Linked DNA regions of Homo sapiens: regions 2 and 3 are each linked to region 1. Evidence: promoter capture Hi-C in 16 types of primary human blood cells and fetal thymus (Javierre and others, 2016). All regions are on one chromosome and are shown on one strand. The core of a region is centred on a gene start or on the middle of the fragment in contact, and the rest is flanking DNA. Distances in the headings are between cores, read along the strand shown. Region 1 has its middle 5.3 kb from the start of CTU1. Region 2 holds the start of ASPDH (aspartate dehydrogenase domain containing). Region 3 holds the start of NAPSA (napsin A aspartic peptidase).

Region 1 (2,747 bases), core at 133-2,632:
GAGGAGGGGCCGCCAGTTTTTAGAACTAATACTTACAATAGTAAGGTCAGGTGTTGTGGCTCATGCCTGTAATCCTAGCACTTTGAGAGGGCAAGCCAGGCGGATCACCTGAGGTCAGGAGTTCGAGACTAGCCTGGCCAACATGGTAAAACCCCGTCTCTATTAAAAATACAAAAATCAGCTGGGTGTGGTGGCGGGCGCCTGTAATCCCAGCTACTCAGGAGGCTGAGGCAGGAGAATCGCTTGAACCCAGGAGGCAGAGGTTGCAGTGAGCTGAGATGGTACCATTGCACTCCAGCCTGGGCAACAAGAGTGAAACTCCATCTCAAAAAAAAGAAAAGTTTGACTTCTGTTAGACAGGAGAAAGTGCAATAGATTTATAGTGCCTGACCAAGAAAAGGAAGCTTTATTTAGCTATCATGTCCCTTTCTTCCAGTCATCTCATTTTGCAACTTCTTCAAACAAAGCATGAAGAGAGAAAGCAAAGAATAGTGAAATGTGAGTACTGGGGTTTCTCTGTTCACCACATCCTCCTGGTTTTCTGACTGGAAACCAGTCAAAATGGTCCAGACTTACTGACTAAGACGTCGATCACAAGTGATGGAATCTTTGTGTATGCTGGTAAAAGAGAATTTGATGAGAGGATTTTGCAGTTTCCCACATCATCTAAGAAGAGTAGGGCAGCCTGTTGGGAAGGACAGATCTCCATGAGCCTCCCGTCCTCCTACACATCTCGTTGGGTATTGCCCAAAACATGATGGTCTGAGATCTCGTTACCTGGCCTAGTTCTCAGGTTGTGTTTGCAGGGAGCCACCCTGAGGGATGGGGTAATGTCTCCCTCCAGGACAAAGAGTAGCCTCACTTGCTGCTGGCTGTAAAGGAGCTAGATTCTCCAACTTGCCAGTTTTGTTTCTCGGGGTCCTATCAAACTGAGACAGAGGTTTCTCTGAGCCTTATCCTATATCAACAATATTTACCAAGTCACTCTAGGAGTCAGAACAAACCCAATTTCTGTCCCTATGGGCTCACCATCTAGCACAGTGGAGAGCATTGAAAATGCCTTCACAGACAACGGGGCCATTAGGAGGGTGCTGGGGTCAGAACAAAGACCTGGGCTACAGGCAGAGATTTCACAAGTAACAGCTTTATTTTTTAATTTTTGAATACATATATTGAGAGTTTATTATATGTCAGGTATGATTCTTGTTGAACAAAATAGACAAAAATGTCTTCACCTATTACTACATGTTAGATGGAGACTTGCCCTGGGAATGAGGAGTGAGGAGCATTTTCCAGGGCCCCAGAGCTGAGCACAAACAGATAAAGGGGAAGGGCAAGACTGGCAGGCCTGTTTCTCCCCTCTTAAGGATTGGGCTACCAGGTGACAAATGTTCAGAGACGTCCAAATGTGGGGCAGGTAGTCAGCTAAATGACCCCAGAGGTAGGTATCAAGGCATGATGACTCTGGAAGAATAGTTGCAAGCCGTATCTTGCAGGCTTACATATCAAAAAAAGTCTTGACTTTATATTGAGGGCACTGGGGAGCCATGGAAGGATTAAGAGCAAGGGGGAGGGGCAGAGTCAGCTCTTGGTGGGAGAAGGTATCCCTCTGGGGTGATGTGAGGGAGACTTTAGGGAGAGGAGGAGAGTGGAGGCCAAGAAGTTGGAGAGGAAAACAGAGTGGAGGTCTGAGCAGAAGAGGAAGAGGATGAAATGACTAGGAGCAGAGGCCATGGGGATGTTGAAGGGGGAGTGAAGTGAGCCTATTCCAGGAAGGGAAGTTTGCAAGACATCTTGCAAACAGGATATGGTAGGTGATAGAGAAATATCTATCTGACTCCTAGAATCCTAATTTGGATAATGATGATGGTTCCATCACTGAGAAGGGGGGAAATGTGGTTGTCTGGGGCTCAGAGCAGATTGGGATGAACAGCATGGTGTGCAAGACATCGGGGGGAGCCACGAGAAGTGCAGAGAGAAGAGAGGGTGCGAGGAGGAGCTGTGGAAACTCACATAAAAGGCTCCTGGGATGAGGAGAACGAGAGACAAGGCCAAAGAGAAACAGAGGGCCCTTCAGAGAGTGTTGCCAACAGAGAGTCTTTCCTGGTGCCTCCTCTGGCCAACAAAGTTTATTAGCACTGCTGTGGGAACCCAGGCAGACCTACCATTTAGTAAGGAGATGCAAAAACTAACAAGAAGGCAGTGGGACAGAGCTGGACTTAGGGCAAAATAAGGACTGTTTGATACACTACAATGAAAACAGACAAACCAACCAACCACAGACAAAAATCCCGTTCCTCAGTAGGCTCCACGGGTGAACGAACTCTCTTCATGCAGAAATTCTACCCAGGGAAGCTTCTAGCCCTTCGAGGGGTGGGGAAGCAAGTGCTGCCAGTAACAAGCACCAGATATAGGAAATGGCCCTCAGAGATGCACATTGATGCTGCAGGAACCAAAGCTCCCAGAGCTGGAGAGAGACAGCTGAGCCCAGCCACCATATCTTCCACCAGACGCGGATTGCTTAGGATGGCAGCTAGATGACCTGGAGATGGCAAGGCATTCTGAGGCTGGAAGGGTGTGCAGGGACCAGATCATGCAGCACCTCCGTTGCAGTCTGCAGAGGTTTGACAATGGAAAGCCTGATGGCAATGGGGAGCCATGGAAGAGTTTCGAGAAGGGGAGAGACAAGGTTAAATCTGGGGCTAGTGTGGGAGGATTCAGGAATGAAGGGATTAGAGGTTGGGGTG
Region 2 (2,700 bases), core at 27-2,526, 600 kb after region 1:
GGGACACAGCCCTGAGGACACACAGGCCTGCGCCCAGCCCCCTTCTCCCCTCGTAGTGGCCCAGGCTGTACCCCGTACACGGCAGCTATGGGCACTATGGGGACACTCAGGCCCCAGCAGGAGTCAGAAGGTAGAGATGGCGGGAGGCCCCCCACTTCCGTGAGGTGCCTGGCCCCTGCCCCCTTCCTGGCTCTGTCTACACCCAGGCATCTCATCTCTCCCACACCGGGGGCTCCTGGCTCTGGAAGCCAATTCCTCCCTTATCAGCAGCGGCAGCCTTTGGGTGCCACGTCGGGGTCTTGGCCCCTCTCTGTCTGCCCGCGTCTGTCTCCTCTCTCCTCCCGTCAACTTGGGGCTCTCGCCACCCAGTGCCCGCCCCCCCCACCCCATGCTCCCGTTCACGCTCTCTTTCTCTCCAGCCTCCTTCCAGCGCCAATCCTGGTTGCCATGGAAACACTGCAGCGGGTACCAGGTGGTGGCTGGGGGCAGGGAGCCTGCGCTGCCGCAGCCTGCGCCATTTCCGATGCCAGGCACCCTCAAGGCACAGAGGCTGGGGCTCATGTTGGGGGCACTTGGCCTCTCCAGGCCTCGAAGGCTTCTCCTGGGCTGACGCGAGCTGGGGAACGGGAGGGACGGACGTGGGAGCGAGAACGTCACACTGGAGGCAGCTGGTGGCACGATGGGGGACAGAGTGAAAGGTAGCAAGTCAAGGTGAACTGAAGGATGATCAGAGCGGAGGGAGGCTGTGGACAGGGGCGGAGGCTGTGGGAAGGGGACCCGTGCTGCGCAGCGGGGCTAGGGAGGTTGGACCCGCTGAGGCAAGGGCACATTGAGGAGAAGCCACAACCAGGGCTCCCGCTGCCTCTGGGAGGGCTAGGGCCACGGCCAGGCTGAAGCCTCCCTCAGACCTTAGCCGCCTGAGGACAAGGAGGAGAGGTGAGCACGAGGGGACAGACAGAGCCCAGAGTCCCTGTCACCATCTCTTCTCCCAACCCAAAGCAAGATGCAGTTTCCATGACAACCTGGCCGGCCAGAGAGGGGGCAGGGGACTGCAGAGGAAACTTTCCACATCAGCAGGGAGAAAGAGGGTGTGCTGCAGGGGAAAGGGGGGCACGCAGGGTTCCCAGAACCCCCGGTCACCATGCTCACTGTGCTGGACCCGGGAAAGTGGACAGAGCACAGGGAAGGGTTCTCCCGCCTCCACTCCCGCAGGCCCACGCCCCCACGCTGGGCCTGCGGGGAAGGGGGAAGACTGAGCCCAGAGGCTCAAGGGTCAGATGTCCAAAGAGCAGCGGCTGCCCAGGCCTTGTGCAGCGGGCAGCGAGCAGCCCAGGGAGCCAGGCCCCAGACACCGCACTCAGGGCCATGGCCGACAGGGGCCCGTGGAGGGTGGGCGTGGTGGGCTATGGCCGCCTCGGTGAGTCCCTGACCATCCTTGGCCTCCTTCCCCAAACCCCTTCCTAAAGCTCCCAAGACTCTCTGCCCTCCACAAACACTTTTTTCTCTCTCTATCTGCCCCTGGCTGTGTCTCTGGGTCTGCCCACTGCACCCCCACCCCAGGTCTCTGTCCTCTCCGTCTCTGTCTCCCTTCTCTCTGGGCCTCTGTCCACCCCACTGTGTCTCTGCCCTGCCCCCATCTCTGTCTCCCTACCCCGCAATCTGAGTCTGTCCCCACCTCCTCTCTCTCTGGGTCTCTGTCCCCACCTCCTCTCTCTCTGGGTCTCTGTCCCCCTCTCTCTGGATCTCTAGCCCTCTCCTTTCCCTCTCCCCAGGACAGTCCCTCGTCTCCCGCCTCTTGGCTCAGGGACCAGAACTTGGCCTAGAACTTGTTTTTGTCTGGAATCGTGACCCAGGACGAATGGCAGGGAGCGTGCCCCCTTCCCTGCAGCTCCAGAACCTTGCTGCCCTTGGGGAAAGGTCAGTGACCTTGCCATGGGAGAGTGGAGCTCCCTGAAGCTCCTGTCCTGGCTCTCTTAGCCACTGTGTGATCTCAGGGGTTCCCTGACCCTCTCTGGGCCTTGGTTCAAGCAAATGTGAAACAGGACGAACCCATTCATCTCATTTCGCCTCCCAGGTCAGGGAGAAGAAGGGCAGCCCTCAGTAGACTCGGAGGGAACCTTGGGGAGAAGAGGCCTAATACCTCTCCAAGACCCTCCGCCCTCTTTCCCCTCTCCCAGGCGCCCTGATCTGGTTGTGGAAGTGGCCCATCCCAAAATAATCCATGAATCTGGGGCACAAATCCTGCGCCATGCCAATCTCCTGGTAAGCCCCACCCCAACCATTTACGCAGAGCCCTGCCCCTTCTGTCTTGGTCTCACCCCACCCTGAAGTGGATATCCTTCCCTGACCTCAACCCTCCCCTCCTTCATCCACCCCAGGTGGGGTCCCCCTCAGCTCTAAGTGACCAGACCACAGAGCGGCAGCTCTTGGAGGCCTCACAGCACTGGGACCACGCCGTGTTTGTGGCCCGAGGGGCCCTGTGGGGCGCTGAGGACATCAGGAGATTGGATGCAGCTGGGGGCCTCCGGGTGAGGCCTGCTGGGCTCCCCAGGAACCAGGGGAGGCCTGCAAAGACCCCACTCCCCCTAACCCGGGCTCTTGCTTCCAGAGCCTTCGTGTCACCATGGCCACACACCCCGATGGCTTCCGGCTTGAGGGACCCCTGGCTGCAGCCCACAGCCCTGGGCCTTGCACTGTGCT
Region 3 (2,700 bases), core at 81-2,580, 750 kb after region 1:
CCAGCTACTTGGGAGGCTGAGACAGGACAATCGCTTGAACTCAGGAGGCAGAGGTTGCAGTGAGCCAAGATGGCGCCATTACACTCCAGCCTAGGCAATAAGAGTGAAACTCCATCTCAAAAAAAAAAAAAAAATTTAGCCAGGGTGGTATCGGGTGCCTGTAGTCCCAGCTACTCGGGAGGCTGAGGCAGAATTACTTGCACCTGGGAGGCAGAGGTTGCAGTGAGCTGAGATCACACCATTGCACTGCAGCTTGGGCAACAAGAGCAAAACTCCATCTAAATAAATAAATAAATAAATAAATAAATAAATAAATAAATAACTCATCAATGCCCAGCCACCAATGAACATCTATAAGCATCAAGGCCATCCAGAATAAATGACCTTACCAAACAAATCAAATAAGCCACCAAGGACCAATCCTTGAAGAAACAGAGATATGTGACCTTTCCGACAGAGAATTTAAAATAGCTGTTTTGAGGAAACTCAAAGAAATTCAAGCTAACACACAGAAGGAATTCAGATTCCATCACATAAATTTAACAAAGAGATTGAAATAATTGAGAATCAGCTGGGTGCAGTGGCTCACGCCTGTAATCCCAGCACTTTAGGAGGCTGAGGCGGGCGGATCACCTGAGGTCGGGAGTTCTAGACCAGCCTGACCAACATGGAGAAACCCTGTCTCTACTAAAACTACAAAATTAGTGGGGCGTGGTTGCGCATGCCTGTAATCCCAGCCTGGGCAACAAGAGTGAAACTCGGTCTCAAAAAAAAAAAAACCAAAAAACAAAAACAAAAACAAACAAACAAAAAACAATACCCAATGATCTGTTGTCAACAAGAAACATACTTCACCTACAAATAAAACAGTAAGAGACTGGGTCCTGAAATGCGGGCCCACTTCATATGTGAGGGCAGGTGTCTAATCATGTCCTTTCTCCCTTCCCCCAGGCCCTTCACAGATACCTGCTGGTCTCTCCCACTTGGCCAAGGAAACACTTGTGGTTAATAAGTCTCAGAAAAGTTATGTGAAAGTTAAAAGTAAAACTGACAGCAGCTGAAGGATGGGGGGGTGGGAGGTGGTGACGGTGGAGGAGACCCCACCACCACTGCCACCCAAGTAGGGAGTGAGGAGCACCAGGAGCACAGGATGCTACTTCTGCCAACCCTACAAAAATACTCTGCACAAATCTTCAAAAAACATCCTTGTCCCACTGCGTCACCTGCGGACAGATTTCATGTCCTGGTCTCCTTCTAAACCTGGAGGTGGGGCATGAACAGGGTGGAGTCACAGGGGAAAGAAAATGAGGCCCCAGGACACCTGGGTTCACACCCAGGTCCCCAGCGATGTCTCCACCACCGCTGCTGCAACCCCTGCTGCTGCTGCTGCCTCTGCTGAATGTGGAGCCTTCCGGGGCCACACTGATCCGGTATGGTGACCCCATCTACCACCCCAACCTTAGGAGGGATTTTCTGCCTCTTGCCCTTTAAGTCTAGGACTCCCAGTTCAGTGATCCCCAAACTTGGCACCCAGGATCCCTAGAGCTTCTTTCTCAGCTTTCCAGATCTCTAAACCAGGCTGTCACCCCTAAGGGCTCCACTCTGACATCTCTTAAGACCAGATTTCTTTTTTTTGAGATGGAGTCTCACTCTGTTGCCCAGGCTGGAGTGCAATGGCATGATCTCAGCTCACTGAAACCTCTGCCTCCTGGGTTCAAGCGATTCTCCTGCCTCAGCTTCCCAAGTAGCTGGGATTACAGGCTCGCGCCACCATGCTCAGCTAATTTTTGTATTTTTAGTAGAGACGGGGTTTCACCATGTTGGCCAGGCTGGTCTGGAACCCCTGACCTCGTGATCCGCTCACCTCGGCCTCCCAAAGTGCTGGGATTACAGGCGTGAGCCACCGCGCCTGGCTGACCAGAGCCCTTTTATTATTATTATTATTATTATTATTATTTATTATTATTATTATTATTTGAGACAGAGTCTTGCTCTGTTACCCAGGCTGGAGTGCAGTGGGGCGATCTCAGCTCACTGCAACCTCTGCCTCCCGGGTTCAAGTGATTCTCCTGCCTCAGCCTCCCAAGTAGCTGGGACTACAGGCACATGCCACCACGCCCGGCTAATTTTTGTATTTTTAGTAGAGATGGGGTTTCGCCATGTTTGCCAGGCTGTCTTGAACTCCTGACCTCAAGTGATCTTTCCGCCTCAGCCTCCAAAAGTGCTGTGGTTACAGCTGTGAGCCCCCGCGTCCGGTCCCAGAGCCCTTTTAAGTCCCAGATCTTACAACACTGAGACTCTAGATTGAGGACCCCTCCCCCTCCTCTCAGGACTTTTTTTTTTTTTTTTTTTTTGAGACTGAGTCTCACTCTGTTGCCCAGGCTGGAGTGCAGTGGCGCAATCTTGGCTCACTGCAAGCTCTGTCCCCCGGGTTCACATCATTCTCCTGCCTCAGCCTCCCAAGCAGCTGGGACTACAGGCACCCGCCACCACGCCCGGCTAATTTTTTGTATTTTTAGTAGAGATGGGGTTTCACAGTGTTAGCCAGGATGGTCTCGATCTCCTGACCTCGTGATCCACCCACCTCAGCCTCGCAAAGTGCTGGGATTACAGGCGTAAGCCACCGCGCCTGGCCTTTTTTTTTTTTTTTTTTTGAGACGGAGTCTTGCCCTGTCGCCCAGGCTGGAGTGCAATGGCGCG

Evidence for each region. The method cuts DNA at HindIII sites, captures the fragments that hold promoters and counts their contacts. A CHiCAGO score of 5 or more calls a contact.
Region 2: the fragment with the promoter of ASPDH here is called in contact with a fragment that was not itself captured in region 1 in 7 of 17 cell types (total CD4 T cells, naive CD8 T cells, total CD8 T cells and 4 more); the score reaches 9.6 in total CD4 T cells.
Region 3: the fragment with the promoter of NAPSA here is called in contact with a fragment that was not itself captured in region 1 in 2 of 17 cell types (total CD8 T cells and total CD4 T cells); the score reaches 7.6 in total CD8 T cells.

Annotation. Positions count from the first base shown.
Region 1 is chr19:51,112,307-51,115,053 of GRCh38, reverse strand. No RefSeq gene overlaps it. Among named protein-coding and RNA genes, the nearest start is that of CTU1, 5.3 kb to the right of the region's middle. The HindIII fragment of the contact is 1,951 bases long and covers 407-2,357 here.
Region 2 is chr19:50,512,489-50,515,188 of GRCh38, reverse strand. ASPDH (aspartate dehydrogenase domain containing) reads left to right here and starts at 1,276. Exons shown (of 7, transcript NM_001114598.2): 1 at 1,276-1,417; 2 at 1,773-1,917; 3 at 2,178-2,262; 4 at 2,379-2,528; 5 at 2,609-2,700. The coding sequence starts at 1,366. All of the region lies in intron 1 of LOC124904747 (a long non-coding RNA gene), which reads right to left. The HindIII fragment of the contact is 8,504 bases long and covers 1-2,700 here.
Region 3 is chr19:50,364,269-50,366,968 of GRCh38, reverse strand. NAPSA (napsin A aspartic peptidase) reads left to right here and starts at 1,330. Exons shown (of 9, transcript NM_004851.3): 1 at 1,330-1,430. The coding sequence starts at 1,348. The region is part of intron 3 of LOC105372437 (a long non-coding RNA gene); the gene reads right to left. RefSeq lists an enhancer at 980-1,129. The HindIII fragment of the contact is 17,836 bases long and covers 1-2,700 here.